Regions from separate parts of the Homo sapiens genome. Here regions 1 and 2 are each linked to region 3. The links are contacts of gene promoters, found by promoter capture Hi-C in blood cells and fetal thymus (Javierre and others, 2016). All regions are on one chromosome and are shown on one strand. Each heading gives the region's core, a stretch centred on a gene start or on the middle of the fragment in contact. The rest is flanking DNA. Distances are from core to core; before and after follow the strand shown. Region 1 holds the start of CYP27B1 (cytochrome P450 family 27 subfamily B member 1). Region 2 holds the start of CTDSP2-AS1 (CTDSP2 antisense RNA 1). Region 3 overlaps NEMP1 (nuclear envelope integral membrane protein 1).

Region 1 (4,333 bases), core at 1,530-4,029, 700 kb before region 3:
AGCTCCTGCAGGTGGCTTCCAGAACATCGCCTGTCTCCGTAGCAATGCCATGAAGCACCTTCCTAACTTCTTCTACAAGGGCCAGGTGGGGAGGGGCCCTGGTGGGTTAGGCTGGTAGGCAGGTGGGGGCATGGAGGCCAGGCTCTCACAACCCTGTTGGTGTGTGTCTGTCTCACAGCTGACAAAGATGTTCTTCCTCTTCCCCGACCCACATTTCAAGCGGACAAAGCACAAGTGGCGAATCATCAGTCCCACCCTGCTAGCAGAATATGCCTACGTGCTAAGAGTTGGGGTGAGTTGGGATCGGAGGGATGATGGGGTGAGTGGCCTACTCAGGGGCCCTTCACTAAGAATTCAGTGGGGGTGCATTTAGGGACTCACACCACCACTTCCTTCATCTGGCTGCTGACGTTGCATGCAGCCTCCTGTCTAGGGTGATTTTGCCTATGCAGGGGCTGGTGTATACCATAACCGATGTGCTGGAGCTACACGACTGGATGTGCACTCATTTCGAAGAGCACCCACTGTTTGAGCGTGTGCCTCTGGAGGACCTGGTGAGTAGGGGACCTAGAGGAGGTGGAGGCCCTTTCCAGAGTGGTTCTGTATTTGGACTTAACTCAGTGCCAGGAGGATGGGATAGGTGTCTAAGGGCCAGGGGCAGTCTGAACAGTGGGCAAGGACTTATTGGACCCTTCCTTCTCCCAGAGTGAAGACCCCGTTGTGGGACATCTAGGCACCTCAACTGAGGAGGGGAAGAAAGTTCTACGTAATGGAGGGAAGAATTTCCCAGCCATCTTCCGAAGAATACAAGATCCCGTCCTCCAGGCAGTGACCTCCCAAACCAGCCTGCCTGGTCACTGACTGCTTACTCTACCTTAGCTGGACCTCGTCTCCCAGGGATTAGAGAAAAGAGCAGGAGTCCTGGGTCTTCCCAGTTGAGACTGCTGGAGCTGAGACACAGTACTCTCTTAAAGAAGGTGGGGAGCTGCCCAGGGCAGAACCCACTGGTGTTCATGACTACCCCTGGCTCCTCTCACCTTGTCCCTCCACTGCCAACAGAAAACAAAGCAGCTGACTGAGATGGTCAAAGGACTTTGGACCATAGGGGATCTTTGGAAGGCTGTGGGGTCTTGCTCTTCCTTAGCACTCCTTTCTCCTTGTGAGATCTCTCCTCAGCTGGAATGAGGAATGTAGTCCATCTAAACTGCTTGCTAGGCTCAATTACCACTTCTGTTTGCTTTGTGGATCCTGGGATAACATGTATATGTGTACACATGCCTATTCTGCCATTTCTCAGGAAAGGGTGGAGTATGTATCATATGCCTTCTACCATCCTCCTGTCCTCTCCCTGCGTAAGACTTGACCTGGGGAATCTGTGTTCCCTAAGTGTTGTCTCTGGAGAGTCCTTGGGAAGGTGTGGGGGTGGAGACCCTCTCCTTTTTCACATTGACCTTCAATTCCAGAACTTCAGAGCTAGCTGACTGGCACAGAGCCTGATAGAGTTGCAGTGGGGAATGAGGGAGTAAGGAGCAGAGAGGTAAACTGTGGGAGATTCTTTTATTTTAATTTTTTTTAGAGACAGGCCCTCTCTCTGTTGCCTAGGCTGGAGTGCAGTGGTACAATCATAACTCACTGCAGCCTTGACCTCCCGGGCTCATGTAATCCACCTCAGCCTCTCAAGGCACTACAGGCATACGCCACCATGCCTGGCTAATTTTTGTATTTTTTGTAGAGACAGTTCCACTATGTTGCCCAGGCTGGTCTCAGACTCCTGAGCTCAAGCAGTCTGCCCACCTTAGCCTCCCAAAGTGTTGGGATTACAGTCATGAGCTGCCGTGCCCAGCCTAATTTTTAAACTTCTTCTGTAGAGACAGTCTTGCTATGTTGCTCAAGCTTGTCTCAACCTCCTGGCCTCATGCCATCCTCCTGCCTCAGCCTCCCAAAGTGCTGGGATTATAGGCATGAGCCACCACAGGATTCTGAGGCTAAAAGTAGAAAGGAGCTGCTAACCAGAAAGCCCCCCAGAGGAGACCGAGTCAGCTGGGGAATTAGAACATCCACATCCATTTAGCTCCTCTAACACCCCACAGACAATCTCTGAACTTAACTAATGTACAAAAAGTTTCATTTCTGCTTCTCAAGCCCCAAATTCCCATGTCTGGAAGGAGGGGGCTTGTATACCCAAGAGACCCCCTTATCCTCAAGAAAGAAAGATGGAGGTTCTAGGAGCCATTTTAGCCCATTAACCCACCTGCCATCTGCCCAGTATATGTTAGGTACAGGAGGAGGGGGAGGTGTGGCTAGTGCAGGAAAATAATGCAGAGAAGATACAACCCACTAAGCCAAGAATGTGGGGACAGTTACAGCTGTGCCTCCCCTGCTTCCCTTCCTGGAGGAGCTGAAAGATGGGGAATTCCTGAGGATGGGCCTAAAGGGGCTGGGCTCACTGGTAGAAGTGGGAATATCAGAGACTGACTAGTGTAGCTTGGTCACCTAGTCCCTACTAAAAAGCCTTATAGCCTTTCCTAGGATGAGACTTTGAGGCTCCTAGACAAAGGCACTCTCCCAGGAGGAAAATCTTAGGCCCTCCCTCCCATGAGGGTCATTGCAACATGAGACCCAAGGGAGTTGTGAAGTCAGCCCCAGCCCCGCCTACTGTTCCTGGGTGCTAATCCCCAGCACAGACCACTCAGGAGGAGGGATTGGCTGAGGAGCTTGGAGAGGGGGCGTCATCACCTCACCCAAAGGTTAAATAGGGGTTGAGATATGATGCTCAGGAGAAGCGCTTTCTTTCGCGAGCACCCTGAACCAGACCATGACCCAGACCCTCAAGTACGCCTCCAGAGTGTTCCATCGCGTCCGCTGGGCGCCCGAGTTGGGCGCCTCCCTAGGCTACCGAGAGTACCACTCAGCACGCCGGAGCTTGGCAGACATCCCAGGCCCCTCTACGCCCAGCTTTCTGGCCGAACTTTTCTGCAAGGGGGGGCTGTCGAGGCTACACGAGCTGCAGGTAGGAAGGGACGCCTTTCCCGAGACAGAGTGCTGGGGAAACTGGTTTTGACAGCGTCAGAAAGGACTGACTAGTGCAGAGCAAATGTGGGACAGCCAGAGAGAACGGATGCCCATGAAATAAGGAAAAGGCGAGTTGAGGCTGGGGGCGGTGTGGCTACACTCGGGCAGAGCCCGTCCCGACTCTTAGCAGAGGGCGCTGCGAAAGCGCCTTCTCGCTGTCCTGAGGTGTGGAGATCCTGCAGATAAAGTACAAGTGCGCGGGAGGGGGAGGCCGGAGTGGGCAGTACCCTCCGCCTGCTTGCGGCTTAAAGCTACATGGGTTCCTTTTCATTCACTGAGGACTCGTCCTGAGATGGACAGTCCAGACATGGAACTTTTAGAGATTTCTCCTCGACCGAGATGATCAGAGAGGTCCTGAATGTCTGCCTTGCACAAAGTTCCGGTTTTGCCCATCACACTCAAACTTTCTAGGGATGGGAAATGAGAGAGGAGGAGTTTGCAGTATCAAAGGCATACACTAGTTGGGCACCCGAGAAAGAGCAGAAGCTCCCTATTCCCAAGCCCAGTCAACGCCCTTGGCGTGGGCACAGGTCAAGCTGAAAGTCCCCGCCCAGGTATCCAAGTGTCCGCTGTGTCCGCTCCCCCAGGTGCAGGGCGCCGCGCACTTCGGGCCGGTGTGGCTAGCCAGCTTTGGGACAGTGCGCACCGTGTACGTGGCTGCCCCTGCACTCGTCGAGGAGCTGCTGCGACAGGAGGGACCCCGGCCCGAGCGCTGCAGCTTCTCGCCCTGGACGGAGCACCGCCGCTGCCGCCAGCGGGCTTGCGGACTGCTCACTGCGTGAGTCTTCTCTGCCCCCAGAAGCCCAGACGCCCTGCAGCGGCCCTCTCCTGCTGCGGGTCCCGAAACTATCAATCTGGGGGCATGGTGGGAGGTCGGCTGTCCCACTCTACCATTGGGCATCTTGGGGTTCCCATCCCAGTCTGCTTCACCCACACTCAGGTTGAGCCCCAACCTCACTCCCCGCCTACCTCCTTATCCTTTGAGGCCCGAATCCTGGGAACTGGGGGAACCGGAGGAATTGGGCTAGGGTACAAGGATCTGGATGGAATGAATGTAAGGTTCTGTGACTCAAGTTACCCGGGAACCCCGGCCCCTGAGGGCAGGAAATGAGTAAAGAGGAAGGGGGCTGGAAGACAGGCGCAGGCCGGTGCAGGTTTCCGTACCCCAAGGGGGCAGACGCAATCCCTCTCCTGGCCACCGCAGCCGAACGCGCTCCTTCACTGCAGCCAGTCCCGTCGAGCCGTCCCCACCTTCCCGATG
Region 2 (3,889 bases), core at 1,233-3,732, 770 kb before region 3:
CTAATTTTTTGTATTTTTAGTAGAGACGCGGTTTCACTGTGTTAGCCAGGATGGTCTTGATCTCCTGACCTCATGATCCGCCCGCCTTGGCCTCCCAAAGTGCTGGGATTACAGGCTTGAGCCACCGTGCCCGGCCTAACATTTCACCTTTTAGAGTGCTTTTGAGTTCATGATTCAGGTGCATGCTTCAGGTGAAGCCACCTTTTAAGGGACCATGCAGGGGAAACCTTTCCAGATTGGCTTATGAGGAAACTGAACCCCAGAGAATTGTGCCCTAGCAAGGCCACGGAACTGTTGAAAAGCTGAACTGGAGCAAGAGCTGGGTTTCCTGACTTCTAGATCAGTACTTTCTCAAGTGGACTCACCTATACGGCTTGGCTGGTCATAGGTGAAGCTGAGGGGTGTGGGGGGAGCAGCAGAATGTCCCTGGAGATGGGTGCCTCCCTGGCAGACTCCTTCCATTCCTTCTGCAGAGGCCAGCCATATGAAGGAGGAACTGGTTGGCCAGCCTCAATGAGTGTGTATGTGTGTGTGCGACTGATTCGTTTTTGTGGAGTCCCGGAAAACATCATTTCCGGTTTGGCCCTGTTACTACCTCTGAAATGAGTTAGAAGAAATCTCTATGGTCCCTTTAATGTGAACATTTTGAGATGGAGACTGAGGTAAGAGTATGAAAGTACTTTGCACTTAATGAGTAGCAGTTGACACTTACAAAGCTTTTGTTAGGACCAGGACACTCCCTGAGCTCCCTGCAATTCTGACACTGAGAAATAGGTAGTCTTCCCATTTTGCAGATGAAGAAACTGAGGCCCATGGCTGCATACCTTACACATGGCAGAGCCTAGATTCGAACTCAAGTCTGGGTGCCTTGTGTCACCACTGTATTTTTCCCTGGTCAGAACAGATACCCTTGCTTTGTCCTGTGTCCTCACTGCTTTCTCCAGCTCACGTTTGTATCAACCTAAAGCAGGCCTACATACCTGGAAGGGAAAGAAGCAGTGGATTCTTCCTAGGCTTCAACTATATCTAAGCATTCCAGGAGTCAAGGGCACAGCACTAAGGCAGGAACTTGAAACACTCACTGAGAGGTTGTCTGTGTGTAGCCCCTCCCACAGGGGCTTGTTATACACCTCCTTAGGGGGAAGGAGGGGTAACTCCAGGTAGGCAAGTGTGGTTTCCAATCCCTCACAATGATACCTTTGCTCTGGCTGGTGCTACATAGGGCAGGGTCTCCTGCTGAGGCAGGGGCAGGATCCAGTCCTTTGAGTTTTCTTGGATGGCATCTCAGGCTTGTCCCTGCTGCCCTGTGGGCTATTAGATCACTTCCTGACATCCCTCAAGAGTCCTCTGGAGTGGGGCTTGCAGGGCTGAGCCTGCAGCTGACTTGTCTATGAGGAAACGCCTCCTCTGTCTCTGGTCCAGGATCTGCTACTTATGGAGGCCCACCCCAACCCAGCACGTTTTTAAAGTACGTTGGAGCTGCCCAGGAGGGTGTTTTGGCAATACCTCCTTTAGAGGCTGATTCTGAAATCAGCGTGCTTTAGAACTGCCAGAAATCCCCTGCTCCCAAAACTGAGTCCTCTTACCTCTCTAGCTGAGGTCAGAGAACAGATTGCTGAAGGGGCAGAGACAAGAAAGTGTGTGACCTGTGACCCTCGCCCCACAGGTGGCATTAAGGACTCAGGTCTGAAAGAAGAGACAGCCATATAGGGAGCTCTCCTGCCCAGGGAAAGGGAACTAATGGAGACACTGGCTTAGGTAGAGCTGCCCCAGTTGCTGGTGCAGAGAGGGCACCAGCATACAACATGCTGGTATGGGCCAAACAGCATGGCTAAAACTGCTTTTTAATTTTTTAAATTTTATTTATTTATTTATTTATTTTGAGACAGAGTTTTGCTCTGTCCCCCAGGCTGGAGTGCAATGGTGTGATCTCGGCTCACTGCAACCTCCACCTCTTGGATTCAAGTGATTCTCGTGCCTCAGCCTCCGGAGTAGCTGGGATTACAGGAGCTCACTACCATACCCTGCTAATTTTTGCATTTTTAGTAAAGATGGGGTTTCACCATATTGGTCATGCTGGTCTCGAACTTCTGACCTTAAGTGATCCCCACTGCCTTTGCCCCCCAAAGTGTTAAAACTGCTTTTTTCAAAAAATGCCCATGCAGTTAGATACACAGCTACTTTTTGGAACTTCGGGAGCCGGTGCTAAGCTGGGTCCGGCCCTGCCTTGCTTGTTAGCTGTAGAGAACAGTGTCAGTGGCCAGGCATGAAAGCAGTACACCCTCCCCATTGTTTGCAGTCTTTTGTGTGTGGGGGCTGTCTAGGCATCTCACCCTCTTTTGTTCCCTGCCGACTCACCTGCTGGTCCCAGGAGCTCTTCCGTCCACCTGGCACTTTAGGGCATGTCCATAGCCAAGGAACAGATGCCCCTTGCAGAGGACCTGGGAGGACTTCTCTCCATGGGGGAGTCCCAGTCAAATGTGTCTTGGCTGCAGGGTTCAGGCAGCCGTCCAAGAAGGGCCGGAAATGCTCCAAATACTCTCCTTCCTCCAATAGCTGAGAGGAAGGAGGCCCCTCAGAGGGGCCATTTTATAGTGATAGCCAGGCTAAGGCTAAGTCCTTTGCTGTGGGGGATGGGAGGTGGTGGGGAAGGAAGTACTTCTGGGGATGAACCAAAAAAGAAAGCAACTTTCTACCTGAATGGGCTTGTTAAAATCTGATTGTCTCAGAGGTTACCTTCTGCTGAATCGCAGGCAGATGTGTGAGGAGTTCCTTTGCTGGGACACAAAGCTGTGTTGTTGACAAAAGTGGTATCTGGACCTGACTTTCAGGAGAAGATTAAAAACAGTGTTGCCCTGGTCACTCTGGTCTTCGTTTGTGTGTATGTGTGCACGTGTTCACGTGTTTGTACATGTACACTTTTTTTTTTTAAAGACAAAATCTCACTCTGTCACCCAGGCTGGAGTGCAGTGGTGCAATCACGGCTTACCGCAGCCTCAAACTCCTGGGCTCCGGTGATTCTCCCACTTCAGCCTGCCAAGCTGGGACTGCAGGTGCACCTGGCTAATTTTTTTTTGGTAGAACAGGATTTTGCCATGTTGCTCAGGCTGGTCTTGAACTCCTGAGCTGCAGTGATCCAACCGGCCCAGCTTCCCAAAGTGCTGGGATTACAGGCTTGAGCCACCTACCCCGGCCCATGCATAGGGGCAAATAGTGTCCTTACCTGGTACTTCTTGAGAGTAGTGGGGATGAATACCAGGGGAGACAGCGATTTTTGTCTCAAGTGAAACAGTCTTACTTGCTTTTGTTTTTCACAGAATACCCAGTCAGGGAGTTTGTGAGCTGGAAAACAAATTTTGTTGTGGACTTGGGAGAAGGTATAGGGGCTATTTTGACTTTCTGAAACCTGCTCATGATCAGAGCTCTCAGGCACCTTTCCCTCATCTTCTTGGGCTTCATCCACGTGATGATGGTGGGAGGGCTCCTGGTCTGTTGCTGGCCTCCTGGAATGAGGCCCATGATGTTGCCATTTAGTGGTCATCTCCCCTTGGATAATTAATTAAAACAAGCGCAGCATTTAGCTTTAGAGTTAGCACAGTGCCTTACTCTCTAACTTCGTTTATCCTTTCAGTCCTGAGTGAGGGCTTGCTGTTATCCCAGTTTATGGATGAGGAAACTAAGGCTCCAAAAGGCTGTGTGGCTGAGTCAGTAACTGGCAGAGCCTGGACCCCAGCCCTGATGATCCTCAGTGGGGGCATACTCCTCACATCCCCTCTTCTCCTCACACCCCGCCTCAGTAGGAAGACTCGCAGCAGTGAGCTGGATGGCTGGCCTGGTTTCCCTGTCTTCAGCCACCAGCTCACTTTCTTCTTAAGCCAGAGCTGCTTCC
Region 3 (3,716 bases), core at 572-3,071:
GAGAACAGTATGAGGGCAACTGCCCCCATGATTCAATTATCTCCCACCAGTTCCCTCCTACAACACGTGGGAATGATGGGAGCTACAATTCAAGATGAGATTTGGGTGGGGACACAGCCAAACCATATTAGACAGTGAACTTCATCGATAAATGTCATGGGTGTTCTAACAACTCAACCAATTGGTTATTCCCGTCTCCCTTCTTCTTGGGCCTCCCTATTCCCTGAGAAACAGCAATATTGAAACTAGGCCAATTAATAACCCTAGAGTAGATTGTGAGTCTTCAACTGAAAGGAAGAGTCATACATCTCTCTGATTATGCTTAGTGAGAACAGCAAAAGCCAAGACAGACCGAAAGCTAGACCTCTTGTCCTGAGCAGTTAGCCAAGTTGTGAGTGCAAAGGGAAAGTTCTTGAAGGAAATTAAAAGTGCTACTCCAGGGAACACACAAGTGATAAGAAAGTGAAACAGCCTTATTGCTGATATGGAGAGAGTTTTAGTTGGCTGTTGAGAAGATTAAACCAGATACAACTCTTTTTTTGTTTGTTTGTTTGTTTTTTTGAGACAGAGTCTTGCTCTCTTGCCCAGGCTGGAGTGCAGTGGCGTGATCTCGGCTCACTGCAAGCTCCGCCTCCCAGGTTCATGCCATTCTCCTGCCTCAGCCTCCCTAGTAGCTGGGACTATAGGCGCCTGCCACCACACCCAGCTAATTTTTTTGTATTTTTAGTAGAGACAGGGTTTCACCGTGTTAACCAGGATGGTCTCGATCTCCGGACCTCGTGATCCTCCCATCTCAGCCTCCCAAAGTGCTGGGATTACAGGCTTGAGCCACCATGCCCGGCCAGATACAACTTTTTTAAAGCTAAAGGCTGATCCAGAGCAAGACCCTAACTGTCTTCAATTCTGTGAAGGGTGAGAGGTGAGGAAGCCTCAGAAGAAAAGTTTACAGCTAGTGAAGGTTCTTGGTTCATGAGATTTAAGGAAAGAAGCTGTCTTATTACATAAGTGCAAGGTAGGCTAGGCGTGGTGGCTCAGGCCTGTAGTCCCAGCACTTTGGGAGGCTGAGGCGGGCAGATCACTTGAGCCCAGGGAGTTCGAGACCAGCCTGAGCAACATGGTGAAACCCTGCCTTTACAAAAAATACAAAAAAGTCATGGTACCAGCTACTCGGGAGGCTGAGGTGGGAGAATCACCTGGGCCCAGTAGATCAAGGCTGCAGTGAGCCATGATGACGCCATCGCACCCCAGCTTGGGCAACAGAGTGAGACTTTGTCTCAAAAAAAAAAAAAAAAAAGATGAACCAAGCACTGATATAGAAGCTGTAGCAAGTTATTCAGAAGATCTAGCTAACATCATTGTTGAAAGTGGCTACAATTAAAGAGCTCCTCAGTGTAGACAAAATAGCCTTATACTAGAAGAAGATGCCATTGAGGACTTTGATAGCGAGAGAGAAGTCAGTGCCTAGCTTCAAAGGAGGGGTGATCCTCTTGTTAAGGGTTAATGCTGTTGGAGGATTGACTCCAGTTTTGAAAGAAGTTGTGGTAAAATGCTATCAGACAGTATTGCATGCTTTAGAGAAATCTTCATTGAAAGGATGAGTCAATGCAGCAAACTTCATTATATTTTAAGAAATTGCCACAGCCACTCCAGCCTTCAGAAACCACTGCCTTCATCAGTCAACAGCCATCAACATGGAAGTGAGACCCTCCACCAGCAAAAAAAATGATGACTCACTGAAGGCGTAGATGATCTTTAGCAGGTTTTAGCAAAGTATTTTTAATTAAGGAATATATATTTTTAAGACATAATGCTGTTGTACACTTAATATACTATAATATAGTGTAAACAATTTTTATATGCAGTGGGAAACCAAAAAATTTGTGTGACTTACTTACTGCAATTGCAATATTTGGTTTATTGCAGTGGTCTGGAACCAAATTTGAAATGTCTCTGATGCTTGTACTGCTCTAATCTTGTACCTTTTAAAATCTTTCGGCTGGGTTAGTTGTCCTAGTTTCAACAGTGCTATGTATGAAATATATACATATGGTCATGAAATACATTTTTTTCCTGCAGAAGTCAAATTTTCTACTACTCTACTGGGATGACTGTGGGAATTGTGGCCTCTCTGCTAATCATCATTTTTATACTATCTAAGTTTATGCCTAAGGTAAGTATCAGAATCTTCATGTGCAGCTAGAATGAATTTGGATAGCTGAAGGACTGTTTTCCTGGGTAATCTTAGAAAACTGAAAATGTGTATTGATGGCTGATGAGTCAATATCCTACTCTCCTTGATTCAGAAAGGTACTTTCCACGATGAAACTTGGAGCCTGATTACAAATTCTTTCTTTTTATATAAAATCCTGTGCTCAGAGGGGGATTAAAGTCTGCTTCCTGTTTTTTAATTATATAGCCAGGCTTTTAAGTTATTTAGCATTTCATCTTCCCAGTGTTCGTTGCAGACTGTACCATTTTAAGTATAAAGGACATCTTTTTAAGAGAAGTGTTTTTTGTGCATTTTGAGTAGGTTGAATTTTTTAAAAAAAAAATCATAGTTCCATTTTGCTTCTTTTATGTATGGAAAGCCTGTTGTAACTTTTTGCTTTCACTTCTACTCTCTGTCTTAGAAAAGTCCCATTTACGTCATCCTGGTGGGAGGCTGGTCTTTTTCTCTGTACCTCATTCAACTAGTTTTTAAAAATTTACAAGAGATCTGGAGGTGTTACTGGCAGTATCTTTTAAGTAAGTGTTGTCGGTTTTGCTTTCCTTTTGTACGTTTATAGGCTGTTTCAGTTAATTTGATCATGAAAAGATTTTGCCTGCTTATGGGATTTAATAGTTCATGTCATTTTTTTAAACTTTTAAAAATCATAGTTTTTCACTTATTTCTAATCCCTCTACAATTATCACCTTCTCTTAAATTAGAATGGTGCTGTTAAGGCGAAGATGTTCATTTATTGGTATTTATAAATATACCTTTCTTTACACAATAAACATCTTTCTGAAAAGCTGTAAGTTGACTTTATTAATGGAATCATATTTTAAATATACTTGGGGACCTTAAGTAAAAGACTCCGCAGTTAATTTTTTTCTCCTTCATTTCTGAATGAACTGCTGTAGATTTTATTTACAAAGTAAAAATCCTTGGTCATATAGATAGTAACCTTTGAGTTATCCTTTGAAGGGTGATTAATCTGGATTTCTGTATATTGGTTTTTTAAAATAGTCTATTTCAGGGTTGTTCAACATGTACCTTTAATGTTCTGTTTGAACCAAATAAATTTGGGACAGCAGAAAGGATAGAAACTTAGAGAAATATATTCTAAGAAAAAAGTGTGAAAAATTAAGTAAAAATCTGATTTCCTAGTTCAATTGGTGCTATATAGTAAATTAACTACTGCTTCCCACACAAATTATTTTTACCAAGTATAGATGAAAAAGAATGTCTTCTGATAACTCTTCTCATAGGTTATGTCCTCACAGTTGGATTCATGAGTTTTGCAGTATGTTACAAGTATGGGCCCTTGGAGAATGAACGAAGTATCAACCTGCTGACCTGGACCTTGCAGCTGATGGGCCTGTGTTTCATGTATTCTGGCATCCAGATACCACATATTGCCCTTGCCATTATCATCATTGCTCTTTGTACTAAGAACCTGGAACACCCTATTCAGTGGCTGTACATCACCTGCAGGTGACTGAAAGGCAATGTA

Evidence for each region. The method cuts DNA at HindIII sites, captures the fragments that hold promoters and counts their contacts. A CHiCAGO score of 5 or more calls a contact.
Region 1: a contact is called between the fragment with the promoter of CYP27B1 here and a fragment that was not itself captured in region 3, in 1 of 17 cell types (neutrophils). The highest score is 6.1, in neutrophils.
Region 2: the fragment with the promoter of CTDSP2-AS1 here is called in contact with a fragment that was not itself captured in region 3 in 1 of 17 cell types (neutrophils); the score reaches 5.0 in neutrophils.

The regions. Positions count from the first base shown.
Region 1 is chr12:57,765,524-57,769,856 of GRCh38, reverse strand. CYP27B1 (cytochrome P450 family 27 subfamily B member 1) reads left to right here and starts at 2,779. Exons shown (of 9, transcript NM_000785.4): 1 at 2,779-3,010; 2 at 3,660-3,850. The coding sequence starts at 2,816. It overlaps METTL1 (methyltransferase 1, tRNA methylguanosine), which reads left to right. Exons shown (of 6, transcript NM_005371.6): 3 at 1-85; 4 at 179-292; 5 at 453-554; 6 at 706-1,386. The coding sequence ends at 861. The HindIII fragment of the contact is 11,205 bases long and covers 1,896-4,333 here.
Region 2 is chr12:57,835,684-57,839,572 of GRCh38, reverse strand. CTDSP2-AS1 (CTDSP2 antisense RNA 1) reads right to left here and starts at 2,482. Exons shown (of 2, transcript NR_188077.1): 1 at 2,359-2,482. All of the region lies in intron 1 of CTDSP2 (CTD small phosphatase 2), which reads left to right. RefSeq lists enhancers at 1,143-1,222, 1,283-1,392, 973-1,593, 2,183-2,252. The HindIII fragment of the contact is 9,495 bases long and covers 719-3,889 here.
Region 3 is chr12:57,063,100-57,066,815 of GRCh38, reverse strand. It overlaps NEMP1 (nuclear envelope integral membrane protein 1), which reads left to right. Exons shown (of 9, transcript NM_001130963.2): 5 at 2,077-2,170; 6 at 2,631-2,745; 7 at 3,472-3,697. Among named protein-coding and RNA genes, the nearest start is that of NEMP1, 14 kb to the left of the region's middle. The HindIII fragment of the contact is 9,125 bases long and covers 1-3,716 here.